Regions from separate parts of the Homo sapiens genome. Here all the other regions are linked to region 1. The links are contacts of gene promoters, found by promoter capture Hi-C in blood cells and fetal thymus (Javierre and others, 2016). All regions are on one chromosome and are shown on one strand. Each heading gives the region's core, a stretch centred on a gene start or on the middle of the fragment in contact. The rest is flanking DNA. Distances are from core to core; before and after follow the strand shown. Region 1 holds the start of YTHDC2 (YTH N6-methyladenosine RNA binding protein C2). Region 2 holds the start of SLC25A46 (solute carrier family 25 member 46). Region 3 overlaps STARD4 (StAR related lipid transfer domain containing 4). Region 4 has its middle 4.7 kb from the start of FEM1C.

The links. The method cuts DNA at HindIII sites, captures the fragments that hold promoters and counts their contacts. A CHiCAGO score of 5 or more calls a contact.
Region 2: a contact is called between the fragment with the promoter of SLC25A46 here and the fragment with the promoter of YTHDC2 in region 1, in 3 of 17 cell types (total B cells, naive CD8 T cells and naive B cells). The highest score is 5.7, in total B cells.
Region 3: a contact is called between a fragment that was not itself captured here and the fragment with the promoter of YTHDC2 in region 1, in 1 of 17 cell types (total B cells). The highest score is 5.0, in total B cells.
Region 4: a fragment that was not itself captured here is called in contact with the fragment with the promoter of YTHDC2 in region 1 in 4 of 17 cell types (naive CD4 T cells, naive CD8 T cells, fetal thymus and 1 more); the score reaches 8.1 in naive CD4 T cells.

Annotation. Positions count from the first base shown.
Region 1 is chr5:113,511,727-113,515,236 of GRCh38, reverse strand. It overlaps YTHDC2 (YTH N6-methyladenosine RNA binding protein C2), which reads right to left and starts at 1,543. Exons shown (of 30, transcript NM_022828.5): 1 at 1,155-1,543. The coding sequence starts at 1,341. It overlaps LOC124901046 (a long non-coding RNA gene), which reads left to right and starts at 1,579. Exons shown (of 2, transcript XR_007058905.1): 1 at 1,579-1,806; 2 at 2,297-3,378. RefSeq lists a silencer at 1,058-1,287 and enhancers at 1,240-1,741, 1,738-1,787. The HindIII fragment of the contact is 3,291 bases long and covers 1-2,852 here.
Region 2 is chr5:110,737,459-110,741,118 of GRCh38, reverse strand. It overlaps SLC25A46 (solute carrier family 25 member 46), which reads right to left and starts at 2,112. Exons shown (of 8, transcript NM_138773.4): 1 at 1,717-2,112. The coding sequence starts at 1,999. It also overlaps a transcript of TMEM232 not described here. RefSeq lists enhancers at 1-273, 274-775, 2,020-2,089, 2,100-2,229, 2,480-2,529. The HindIII fragment of the contact is 3,989 bases long and covers 112-3,660 here.
Region 3 is chr5:111,506,988-111,510,275 of GRCh38, reverse strand. It overlaps STARD4 (StAR related lipid transfer domain containing 4), which reads left to right. Exons shown (of 6, transcript NM_139164.3): 2 at 2,834-2,947. The coding sequence starts at 2,843. Among named protein-coding and RNA genes, the nearest start is that of STARD4-AS1, 3.6 kb to the left of the region's middle. RefSeq lists an enhancer at 973-1,092. The HindIII fragment of the contact is 2,144 bases long and covers 300-2,443 here.
Region 4 is chr5:115,547,816-115,551,177 of GRCh38, reverse strand. No RefSeq gene overlaps it. Among named protein-coding and RNA genes, the nearest start is that of FEM1C, 4.7 kb to the right of the region's middle. The HindIII fragment of the contact is 7,329 bases long and covers 1-3,362 here.

The sequences.
Region 1 (3,510 bases), core at 294-2,793:
GATAGGCAATTTTCTCTCAAGTAAAACACACAGATACAAAATATGAAAAACATACATAGACAATCAAATTTATTATACTTTATTTGAGGTTAACTTTATATTTCATATTCTATTTATGTAAATTAATAAAATTAAGATATTTTATTAATTCAATAACTACTGAATGTCTATCAGAATTCTGATATTAATAAAAAGACAGCTATGTATTAAACCTAAATGTGATAAAGGCCTCTGATATTCACCAAAAACGACTCCTCTTACTTGTTCTGGAATTTTGAGTTGGTATAATGACTGAACATATTTAACTTGGTCCCTACTTGTTTAGTTAACAAAATGTTTATTTTCTTCAATGATGAGATATGTTCAAATATTATGAATTCTCAACATGAAACTCCATTGTCTTTGCTTTCAAAACTGTACAGAATTCGTATTTCACTATTTCAGAGGGATTTGTTATATATTGCTGAGGCTTTCTCTTTTTTTAATGTGAATTTAGAATCTCTCTGTCTAGAACATTCCCCGTTTTGGACTATAAGATTCCAGAGTAAGAGGTCCCCTAACTAAGCCAGCAGGTCCGAATGAGCCCTCAACAGACTGCACAGGTCACCGCAGGTCAGTTGCTGGTTCTGCATTATATGACCCAAGACAAGTGGCTATCTAACCTCAAGAGGTGTGGAAGATGCTTCGTGTGCCAAACAAGTTTAATTTAAGTGGGTAGCGTGATGCTTCAGGGTCCAAACGTATTGCTGGTGCATTTATTTATATGTTTGATTTCTTTCTGCTCTTCTACATCTGTAGCTTAAACGTGCCACAATTAGGTGACACCCCCTTAAAAAGGGTTAGGGCTAACCAATATCTGAAACACGGTGGCTTAACCGCCCAAGGCTGCTGAAAGACGCGGGGGAAAAACACTTTCAGCTAGGGAGCAAAGTGCCCATAACCCCATTGATCCGCAGAGCACCTCGCATTCCACCGCAGGGCCAACAGCCGCGTTCCAGACCCGGGTGCCGCCGCTGAGGCCCGCCCCGGACGGTGGCCCGGGTCTTCCCTCCCTCTTCGGAGGCACCCCCATCACTCGGTGGGCCGCCGTTTGGGGGGCGCTGGGGTGAGGGGGGTATCCTGACTGCCAGCATGGTCCCTGTCCGGAACCTCACCTCTCTGGTCCCCGTATCGGAAGCGCTCCAGCGCGATATTGACTGCGATCTTCACCTCCTCATCAATGCGAATGTCCTTCAGCCCCTTGGCCCGGCCGCCGCCCCCAGGGCCACAAGGCGAGGGGCCGCCGCCTCCGCCACCGCCAGGAGCCGGCTGCCGCGGGGAGACGCTGCTCGGCCTGGACATTGCCCTGAAGAGATGGTCTCTCCGCACGGGAGCGGCCAGGCCTGCTAGCTGACAGCCAATGACAAAGACCGTGGGAATCCGGGGCCACTACCGGGAAGCTCCGGAGACGGCCTGTGTTGGGCTGAGGTCACCAGAAAGGCCTCAGTCACCGCCACAGCAGAAGTGAAGCCTGCGCCATTGATATCACGGCCAGGCGAGGAGCGCGGGCGTAATGACGTCACCAGGGCCGGCGCCCGTGACCTCAGCGCGGCCGCCGCTGCGCGCCTAAAGGAGGCTGTCTGCGGAGCTATGGTGCGGTTCTCTTCCCGCGCCGCCCACCAAGGGTCGCTCCTCATCTTCTTATTCACTCACTTGCTACTTCGTTTAGTCCTTCATTAATTCCTGCAGTAAGCATGTATGGGCTTCTACTGTGGACCTGGCATTATGCCACGCCTTCGATGTACATTGGAGAACCAGAGAGCCAAGGTTCCTACCTTCATGGAGTTTATATTTTAGTGGGAGGAGGGTTGCCAGATTTAGCAAATAAAAATACAGAATGCTTAATAATTTGCATTTCAGATAAACGAATAATTTTTAGTGTATATATTTCCCATGCAATATTTGGAAAAATATCATAAAAAATACATATACTAAAGAATGAGCCACTGTTGTGTGTCTTGCATTCTTCCCTTTTCTGAATGGGAGATTTTAATGCAAGTATGCCACCCTTGCTCTATCACGCTACACAGGGTAGCTGAGTGGGGGCAGGTATGTAGTACATATTTACATAGTTCATGAGTTACCTGGCAATGAGGATATACATCTGGATCTAATAAAGAGGACTGTGTATCAACAACAGATCCTGGATGCAGTGACTAGATAGAATTCCAGGTGTCTGGGGAGGGTATATGTGTATTCTGTGTGTGGTAAGAAGGGGGCGGAATATTTGGTGACAAGAAGTATCTTTTCTTCCTAGGCATTATATTTCCCAACTCTCCTGCAGTTAGCTGGGGGCCACATGGCTGAGTTCCGGCCATTGGAATGTTGCTGGAACTGATGTATACCACTTCCAGGATTGGTCTATAACACCTTCCTTGAATCTTCCCTTCTCTGTCTTTCCTGGTCTTCTGGAAGTTCTTAGACAACGGTGGAACCACTAGATAGATAACAGGTTCCCGATTCCCTGAACGAGTGTGATAGAGTGTCCTCACCAACCCACATTGGAATATGACATGGGTAAGAAATAATTCTTAGTTGTGGTAAACTGCTGAGATTTGGGAAGATTTTTTTTTGTAACATTATGGTAAATTGTTGAATTCATCAAAGGTATGGCCTTTGATGAATCACACATTCCTCTGTTCACACCCTTGTATTCTTCCTTCCCACATGGACTCTGTCTTTGGCTATGTAACTTGCTTTGGCCATTGGGACATCAGCAAATACGAGATAAGCAGGGGCTTGAAAGGTGTTTGTGCATTAAGGCTTAGCCTGTTTTGCTGCTGAGAATTCTTCTTCCACAAAGTAAAGAAGCTTAGGCTAGCCCACTGACAACTATGGCCCAATCATCCACCAGCACCAAGGGCAAGACGTGAAAAAGGCCATAATGGAAAGTCTAGTCTTAGAAAAGCTGCTGGATGACCACAACTCTGTAAGCAACCCAAAGCAAGATTAGCAAAACCACCTAGCTAAACATAGTCCAAACTGTTGACCCACAGAACACATAAACAAATAAAATGAATATTGCTGTAAGCCACTAAGTTTTAGGTTGGGTTTCTTACACAGCAGTAGATAACTGATACAAAGAGTTAGCTTATTCTGACTAATATATTTGTACAATGATAAGGCTGATCTTGGGCATAAGTGACTAGGCTGAAAGAACTAGCTTCACCCGTTCCAGTTTGTACCCAGTTGCCTAAGAACTGGGGTCATCAACATCTTGATATGCCTGTAAACAACTTGTGGCATACGAGCATGCCACAGCACAGTGGTCTGGAGACTGCTCTCTTCTCATCTATAAAATTGACCTGGTAGAGTAATAAAGTCTTAAAATATAACCAACATGATTTTATTATTGATGCTAGGGATATTTCCTCCCACCCTTTGCCCCCTCATCACCCCTACTTTGCCAGCCCTCCATCCCTTTCTCTCTTGTTCAGCCAGGTCATTTAGGGGTTATTATTTGGGGAAATA
Region 2 (3,660 bases), core at 863-3,362, 2.8 Mb after region 1:
TGAAGCAACTGCCCTCACTATTCCCTTTCAATCAGAACAAGGCCACCTAAGCATGTTCCTGGGAAATTACGCAGTTTACCCTAGAAAAATGTATAAGCTAAATAGAAAGCTTCTTTTACCCACCTACGGTACTTTTACCTTAGATTTTACCTTTTTTTGTTTGTTTTGAGACGGAGTCTCGCTCTGTCGCCCAGGCTGGAGTGCAGTGACGCGATCTCGGCTCACTGCAAGCTCCGCCTCCCGGGTTCACGCCATTCTCCTGCCTCAGCCTCCCGAGTAGCTGGGACTACAGGCATCCGCCACCACGCCCGGCTAATTTTTTCTATTTTTTAGTGGAGACGGGGTTTCATCGTGTTAGCCAGGATGGTCTCGATCTCCTGACCTCGTGATCCGCCCGCCTTGGCCTCCCAAAGTGCTAGGATTACAGGCGTGAGCCACCACGCCCGGCCTTACCCATTTTGTATGTATAGATCATCCCCAAATAGCAACAGAAAATGCTACTAGCATTTTCTGGAAGGTGTTAGGAAGGTTTAATCTTGTTTACTGTGTAAGTCTCTTAGGTGTCTATCTTTGTTGCAAAATTAACATTCACCCACCTGTTAAGGCTGCAAAATAAACCCCTGCTTGTGTCAAGGAACTCCTCCTCATTGTAACCACCAAAGCATAACTTTAAACCGGGAAGAGTCAAAAAGCTAATTGTATGACAATTAGCTAGGTAAGTCATCTATCTTTCTTCACATCCTCATTTACTCACTAGACATTCGTTAGTCTGTTCTTCTTAGTTAAATATTATTGTACTTCCAAGTCAAAGTCGAGGAAATAAGAATAAAGCTGATTTCTACAATAAATTTAATATTAATACCATTAATCTATTATTCTAACAATTCCAGAAGAATAGAAAGAGGTAGCCATTATTCACATTTTATGAATAAAAAAGGATGTTGAAAATATCTACATCATGCAGTGTTGCAGCTTTTCTGACATCCCATGGAGAATAATTATGTCATGATTCCGAAGTCCTATCTTGAAATTGTATCAGTGTTTCTAACTTTTATATGTAGTTTTTAGGTCAGCAGAAGGAAAGCAGAAAGGAAAATTATAGGAAGGAAACTTTCTAGACTGGGGATCTGAAAAGCAGACAAAACTCCTGTGTTCAAAAAGGAAAAGGAAGGAAACTTTTTTTTTTTAGCCTATGTGTCCCATACAGGATTCTTCTACACATCTTAAAGATGAGAAAACTGAGGGCTCACAGAGGTTAAGTTGTTCAGATTACGAGTGGCACAACCAAGTTTGAACCCAAGTATGCTTATGCTGAAAGGCTTCTCTTTTCAGAACACAAAACTACAAGTAAACACATTAATTAATTAATTAAATCAAGAAAATAGAGCTGCCAAAGTGAATCAGGGAACAGTTAATAATCCAATCTCCTTTTTAACTCAGACCATCAGTTGAGACACCAAAACCTCTAAAAATTCCTGCTATGCACCCCATAGCTAAGGCAGATGTCTTTTTTGGAGTTGATCCAGGAGAATTCGTTTGTGAGGAAGAGGAGGCCAGCCTCAGGGGCAGAGGACCAAAGGAGGGCAAAGGGTGTGGCGCGCGATAGGATGAGAAGGAATAGGAGGCGGGATCCTCTGCGCCGCTTCCGGGGTCTGCAGGCCGCAAGCCGCGGCCCCAGTAACCCCTCATCCCTGTGTCGGTCCCCATGCTTCTCACCACTGCTCTGCCCCTGCACACTGCCGCCGCCGCCACTGGAAAAGGGTTCCTCCGTGGGGCCTTCGTACGGGGTGGAGGTGGTGGGCACGCCGTAGGGCGGGCTCTTCTCGCCCCAGTGCAGGTTGCGGCTGCCGGGGATATCTGGGGGAGTCGTCACCCAGTGGCCCAGGTCCGACCCGGTGCTGAAGGACCTTGCAGGGAAGGCGCCGCCAAAGCCCTGCTCGTCCCGGGCACCACCCCGGTAGCCCAAGCCATCAAATCCGTCCGGGCGCCGCGGATGCATCGCAGCGGGGGCAGGATGACGCGAGCCCGCCCGGAGCCCACCACCACCGGGGCCACCACGACCTAAGCACACACAGCTTCCCGTCGGCCGCCGCCGCGTCAGGGGTAAATTCTGACAACCGGAAGTCACGTTGGAAACCCGGAAGTCTTCGGAGCACGTGATTATAGCCTCTTCCGGCAACCATTAAAGGGCACGGTTGCTAGGGAGACGCGGCGGTAACCTGGACCTTAAAAGTTTGTTGTCGTTAGGGAATAGGTGGGAATATGGTTGTGGGATTAATGAAACACAGTACCAAAGAGATTCCAGAAAGAGAACTGGTGTAGGAATAGGGCCTGCATGGGAGGAGTTCAAAGATGCTTCTTGGAGGGAGCCGATAACCCGCGGGTGGAGCCTACCCGGTGAGATCCCGGCCAGAAATACCCCATGTCACAGCTACGCCCCAGATCTCAGTGTTTTCTCACGGGCCTGGTGCCTCGCCTGCTCCGAGGAAGCTAGTAGAGGTTGGAGTTGTGGAGGGTTAATAACGTTCCACCTAGCTTTGTCTCCCGCACTTGGGGTTTTGGATCAAATCTATTGAGAGATATGGTACCGCCCAGTGAACGCGAAAGTACTGTGGACCACCAGAGCAAGCATTTTAAAAGTTGAAGTGCACGTCGGGGGTGAAAGAAACCCACGTACTCGAATACTGTCCTCCTGGAGTTAGAAATTACGCGTTTTCCTTTTCTAAGGCTGTAAAGAAACTATAGTTTTCTGTCGTATTTTTTTCTGATGTGTCTAAATCACTCAGGGTATTGAAATCCCAGTTATATCGTTCAAAATTGGGACCTCTAATTGAATAACTGAGAGGACTACTGTAGAGCGTCCCCTACTACCTGTTTTCATTAGCTCCACGGGCTCTTGGGCCAGGCTCCCTCCCCAGATCTGAGGAAGACTTCCATGGTTTCATCCTATGTTCCTTCAACTCGTTGGAAGCCCAGGATTCCTAGAGCTTTTCCAAGAGAACTCTGACGTGCAGTTCTCGATCTTCCAGATGCGAACCTTGATTGAGAGTGATAATCAACTTTGTTTTGATTGAACTGACATTTTTTTCTGTGGTTTTATCACTTTTTATTTTTTATGGGTGTATAGTAGGTGTATATATTTATGGGTTACATGAGATATTTTGATAGCGTACATTAAAATGTATAATTAACATTTTTAAATAACGAATTGACATTCTTAAATTTGATTGCGATGCAGCTTGGGCAAAGGTGTTGAGTCTCTTGACTGTATAAAATTTAAATGTCCATATAGTAAATTTTAAAATATATAGTAATCACAATTGAAAGGCAAATCACAAACAGAAAAATGACATTTTAACATGGTTTAAACAATGGAACAGTAGCTTTAATGTACAAAGAGTTCATACCAATGAATAAAGGCAAATCAGAAATATGAGCAAAGGACATGTAGAGGCAATTCATACAAAAAAAGGAAGTGTAAATAGATAATATCATATAAAAAGTCCTTTACTAATTGAAAAAAGGTAAATCTTAATTATCTTTCACGTATTAAGGTGTTTAAAAGGGAAAATGCACATTGTCTTTCCAGGTGAGAAGAAAGTAGCTTTCATTAATTTCTGAAGTGATATAAAACATAACTTTCTGATGGAGAGCAGTTTG
Region 3 (3,288 bases), core at 122-2,621, 2.0 Mb after region 1:
CTCTTGGTTCTAGAATATATTAATATTTTGAGAAATGCTCAATTATGCCTGTTTACACAGAGGTAGCAGTTTTGATGGCAATGATTATTTCATTATGGACTTAATCTTGATGAAAATAATCCATGCAAGACTTAACTGTTTGGTTAAATACATTGCTGGACATATTTAATCAGAGAGAGCTTTCTGATTTTGTACTTCTTTCTCTTCCTTTCCTACCTCCCACTGCACCACTCTTAAAAAGGCTATTAATAGAATTTTTTAATGTTTTAGTTTTTGTTGTTGTTATTTCTGTTAAAGCTTAAGGGTGGAATAAGTCAATTTGAGAGTAAAATCTGAATTCCATCTGTTTCTGTAGTTCTAGGACCTGGTATATAATAGATGCTTGATAAATATTTAATAGTAGTCCTTCTTGAGAAATGGTGTTTCATTATGGTAAAGGAAGTTTTAGTTATTCAGAAGCTCTAGGATTGGCGTAAATGGGCATACTTTAGATATCTTGAGGTCTTCCATAAGTGAGAATGGTAGCTTATTGTCTATACATTTTTCCATTTTTTATTCACTGTGTTCCTACTGAGTGCTAGACGTAAGGAGAATTAATATTGAACAAGCCAGATTTCCTACCCCCCAAAGATTTTACAGTTAAACGGGAGAAGATAACAAGTGAATAATTACAGTACAGAGTTGCTGTCAGAAAATATTGGAGGGGGAACTAACCCAGGTTCAGGGGAATCCAGGAAAGATAAGTGGAAATTAGGTAATGAAAATATGCCACATTATAAAAGGGCCTGTAAGCTATAGTAAGGAGCTTGAACTTTATACTGATCAGTATGAATTACTAAGTCAAGTACCTTAAAGTTGCAGATTCTCATCTCTTCTAGGTAGCTAGCTTTCTAGGTAACTTTCCGTGCACTGGATTTGCCCAGTGATAATGTTTGCTTATGATAATAATAACTTTCTGTTTCACCTTTGATTTCTATCAAAAAGTTTTGCATAAATACTCTTATCTGCCAACCACAGGAACCTAGCAGGTGACCTTTGGGTTTAAAGAATATGTTTAATCATAGTGATCCCTGTAATAGATAAATTAAATCTCTTTTACAAGCCTTCTGCAAGAACTTCTGCTTGTTTGTGGCATACTCTTGAATAAAGTTATTGAACTGGCTATCAAGTTGACAGCCTCTTGAATGGAAATTAGGTATATTCTTGACTGAGAGACTTTTTGAATGAGCTCATCAACTTTTCATCCGTGGATTGGATCTATACTTATTATATATTTTGCATCACTTACATAGATCCTAAAAGTTATATTGAATTTTCTTTGTATACTTTCCCATGTTTCTACATAATTTTAGTATTTATAAATTTTAATGGCTTATATGCTCTAATTAGTGGTATTTAAATATTGGCTACAACCTTAATTTATTTCTGTCACTTTAATTTTTAGATCAGTTAGTTCTGATCTCTGGCTAGACAACAGAATAATTAGTGAGACTATTTTAAAGGACCTACATTTCTGAGGCCCATTCCAGAACAAAGCCACTGAATTAGACTATTTGGCACTGGGCCCTAAAATCTAACACCTAAAAGCAGCGACAACTAGTACAAAGCATAAAAAGGTGATTCTGATGTGTGCATCCATAGTTGACAACTGCAGCCTTATTCCCATAGAGGGTGATTTCATTTAGATTAGGAGATTTCATTTAGATGTTTTCTTGACCTCCTTTCCAGCAATTTGATGGTTCTGTAATGGGCAACTTTACCCCTAAAACTCTTTTCTTCTTTAGCCTTTTACTGAAGATGGGAGGAATAGAGATAGAATAGTGAAAAGTAGGAATTATGCTAAGAAATTGGTGCCCTGGCACCAAAAGAAGACAAAGACCAAGTAATTCTTGTTTTGAGACAATAACATATCAACAAAATAAGGGCCTACTATGTGCCAGGCAGTGTTCTAGGTGGTGGAGTTATAGTGGTGAATAAGAAAAGGACCTCTATGCTATTAGTTAGGAATGAGGTGGTCAAAGAGTAGAATCATACACCTATAAATAAGTTATTATATTGTCAGATAATGATAAGCACTATGAAGAAAATAACGATGTAATAGTAACTTAAGAAGGCTTTATGAAGGATAGGAGGTTTAAACTGAAATTGGCATTACATTGTTATTAGTGATGCTAAGATTTGGGATCTAGCCGTATCAAAGACCACAAGTCAGCGATAAGCTAGCCTGTTTGAGGGACAGAAAGAAAACCAGTGTAGAATACTGTAGACAATGAGGTATGATGGTGTTAAAAGGAACCTATTCTTATTAAGGGCAATTCCAAGCCTTTTGACTTGAGAACTTGGGCTCAATTGCCATTTTAATAGTAAATTGTTAAAATGAGGAATACTGTGACAAATTGAGGGAAGCCAGGGGAGGCAAGAGATTCCCTTTAGGCTTGAAGCTTTAAGTAGGCTTCTGGATCTGGGATTTTTGAGCTCATTGAAACAAAGAGGACTGGAGGTAAATGTTTGAGAGTTAACAGCATATCTATATATGAGATACAATTGCTTCCCCTTCCTCCTGTCTTCTCTTCTACTTTCTGTATGAGTGATTTTAATTGTAAAAAATATGTAATTCTCACCTCTGGCTATGGGTTATTCATCTTGGGAGCAATTAGAAAAAAACTATGCCCGGGTCCTACTCTCAGAGATTATGATTAGTTGATTTGGGGTGAGGGTAGCTATCTTTTATAGCTCTGGTAGGTTATTATATTGTGAAACCAGATTCGAGACCCACTGGCCTATTGCCTCAAACTGTGGTATTTGCTGATGCTAATCTTGGTCTCCATAACAGAGAGAAGTAATGGAAGGCCTGTCTGATGTTGCTTCTTTTGCAACTAAACTTAAAAACACTCTCATCCAGTACCATAGCATTGAAGAAGATAAGTGGCGAGTTGCTAAGAAAACGGTAAATTAGTTCAATTACTTATATTTGGGGTATATCTTCTATCTAATGAATTGGTTGATGACTTTTAAAATTAAATGGAACAATATGGACAAAGACCATACTTTGGATGGATATGCAAGAAAAATAATTGAGCTAATAAAGTTGATAGTCTAATGTCACACAGAGGAAGAAATGCATCAGTGGTAATCCTATACTGCTTTCATTAGCTCTTTGGATATTAGACAAGAGAATAGGCTCATGGCAACTAGAACCTAAAGAATGGCCTCTTAAGTCAGCAAATAAAATGTATCATTATTAATTTAAGAAAGTGTAGTACTTGAGAGTTTGGAATAGTTTCAGGT
Region 4 (3,362 bases), core at 515-3,014, 2.0 Mb before region 1:
CCCCAAGGAAGTATTCTTGCTTTAAGTAAATAACCTTAAGTGGGGTCTCACTCCTCCTAAAACCTGCAAGAGAGAAGCTGCATGAAGAAAATATGAAAGCTGGTTGAGCTGTAGGAATAGGAAATGGTGTGTTAATATTAGGATACACTTTGAGTGAGGGGAGTAGGGATTTTTGGTCGTTCAGAGGGTAGCTTAGGGCACCACTCTCTCCCTGGCACGGGGGAAGCAGGAAGAAAGAAGGGAACATCTCACGTGTTCTCTCAGCTCCAGCATTCTGGATGGTGCCCCCTCCCACCCCCCTCCTGCTGACTTTTGGCTAGGCTTCCTCCTACTAATCCTTTAAAATTCCATTTAACCTTCACCTCCTTCCCAGATTTGCTCAAGCAGAGTTAGCAGCTCTGTTCTTTGGGCTCTCACTGTTGTTTATACACATATTTTGTTTTCATCTGTTTATAGCTACATTTCTCCTACAGACCATCAATTCCTCAAAAGTAGAGATTATGTCATATTCATCCAGTATCTAACATAGTACATAATAGGATTCCATAACTTTGTTTTATTGGGGTTTTTTTTGTTGTTGTTTTGTTTTGTTTTTAGACAGGGTCTGGCTCTGTCACTCAGGCTGGAGTGCAGTGGCGCAATCTCAGCTCACTGCAACCTCCGCTTCCCAGACTCAAGCCATCCTCTCACCTCACCCTCCTGAGTAGCTGGGACTACAGGTGTGCATCACCATGCCTGCCTAATTTTTGTATTTTTTGTAGAAATGGAGTTTTGCTATGTTGCCCAGACTGGTCTTGAACTCCTGAGCTCAAGCAGTCTGACAGCCTAGACCTCCCAAAGTGCTGGGATTCCAGGATTCAATAATTTTTAAGGTGGTGAATGAATTTATGACAATTAAAATATCTCACCTTGAGCAAATTATCAGTGTTAATAAAGCGGACTTATATGAGAAAGACATTTCTAAATAGCACAAGAAGCGTACACCTTGCTATGCTATTTTTGTGTAACTTTTAAATTCATGAAAGTAGATTCTTTTCATACTTTTCTAAATAGAACTATGCCCAGTTAGTTACCAAAAACTAGAGATTTAAAAAAAATTCATCCTGGCCATTTCTCAAATTAGAACAAGTTACCAAAGTATACCAAAACCGTGCAAGCAAACTGTTTCACTGAGGTTTCTGGTTTAAATATAGACTGGCAGGAATTAAATGTTTGACAATCCCCAGAAGGAATACTATAGAAGGAATGTTCTACTAATTCAAGGATATTGCACAGACCAAAAAAATCCCAAGGGTAGCCAGGTAAATTTGGGAAACTTGGCGGTATCATTTAACACATACAAAACCAGTAAGAATTTTCAAAAAATATAATATCAAGTGGGTTCAATGTTTGGTGAAGTCAATAGTGCCTTGCTGGTGGTGACAGATTGGTCTAAGTCTTCTAGGAAATAGTATAACAATGTATATGAAAAGCCAAAAAGACATTCTGTAATCCAACTCTTGGAAATTTATCCCAAGGCAATATGTGAGAAGAAGAAAACAACTTATAGGCCTGAAAATGTTCATTGTTCTATAATTAGGGTGTCCCCTTTTTGCTGATCCAATTCCTCCTCCCCATCAGCCTTTCAGGTAAGGGGTAATGTCTCCTCTGGGCTTACATTATAAAGCCTTGGGCCTAGGGAAATGCTCTGGATGCAAGTAACACTTTGCTCCCCCGTCGGGGAAGCCTGAATATTCACCTTGGCTCCCGGAAGTGGTTCCCCTTTTTGTCTGTCATCTCTGGGTACTTACCTGAATGGGTAATTCAGAGGCTGTCTCTGGTCCCTTTCCCCTTTTCCAGTCTTTGGCTCCCCCTACAGACCCCTTAAAAATGAGTCTTCCTGTTATGCCCCAGTAGCATTCTGTGGCTTTCAGGAAGACAGTAATTGCTGATTTAACCAGACATCAAAGTCTTAATAACCAAACCAATCCAAAGCAAACCAACCAAACCAAACAAAAAAGTTGTCCCTCCCATTGATGGAAGGTAGAAAAGAGGTGGGCATTTAGAAACACAATGTAAAATCTATATAAAAGGAAATTTAGTTGATTTTCTATTTAAGAAAAAAAAAATCAAAGATTGGAAGAACAAATGTTCTTTAGAAATGGAAATGACTTCCAATAGGGGGTTGTGAATAAGTCTCCAAACATTTCAATTAAGTCTTCAAACATTTTTACTCATGCACATGAGATGCTATCTACCCTCCTACATATTTTTCAATTGTCACCTAAAATTTTTCATCATAAGTTTAAGTATTCGCAAAGGTTGCAATTTTCCGCAAAATGTAAAAATTAACATTTTTAAATAAAACATGCTTTTAAATGAATCCAACGAAATCTAAATATCATAGCAGTTATGCTTACTATGAACCATTTAAAAAAATATATGAACAAATTATTATTTACCTATAGGATATTTTTACATAATTTATTTTCTCTTCGCATTTATAATTCCATTCCACATCCCATTCCTCAGGAATATATCCTAATTAATGTACTTTTATGTTTGAATATGTTTTTTGTTTTTGTTTTTGAGACAGTATCTCGCTCTGTTACCTAGGCTAGACTGCAGTGGTGCAATCACAGCTCACTGAAGCCTCAACCTCCCAGGCTCAAGTGATCCTCCCACCTCAGCCTCTGGAGTAGCTGGGACTGCAAGCATGTACTTCCATGCTTGGCTAATTTTTAAGTTTTTTGTAGAGACAGGGTCTCACTCTGTTGCCCAGCCTGGTCTTGAACTTCTGGGCTCAAGCAATCCTCCTGCCTGGGCCTCCCAAAATGCTGGGATTACAGGCGTGAGCCACTATGCCTAGCTGAATGTGTTTTATGAATCACTCTATTATATTTCTCTGCAATGAAAATACATATAAAAGCCAGGCACAGTGGCTCATGCCTGTTATCCCAGCATTTTGGGAGACCAAGGTGGGTGGATCACCTGAGGTCAGGAGTTCAAGACCAGCCTGGCCAACATGGCGAAACCCCGTCTCTACTAAAAAATACAAAAATTAACTGGGCGTGGTGGCAGGCACCTGTAATCCCAGCTACTCAGGAGGCTGAGGCAGGGATAATTGCTTGAACCTGGGAGGCAGAGGTTGCAGTGAGCCGTGATCGTGCCATTGCACTCTAGCCTGGGTGACAACAGGGAAAACTCTGTCACAAAAAAAAAATATACATATATATATATATATATATATATATATATATACACACACACACACACACATATAAAGAAATACATATAAGTTGAAATTTAAGTTTCTTATAACTAAAGACCCTAGGTGCTCATTTTCTTCCAGATTGAGGCATCATTGTATTTATTAGTAATTT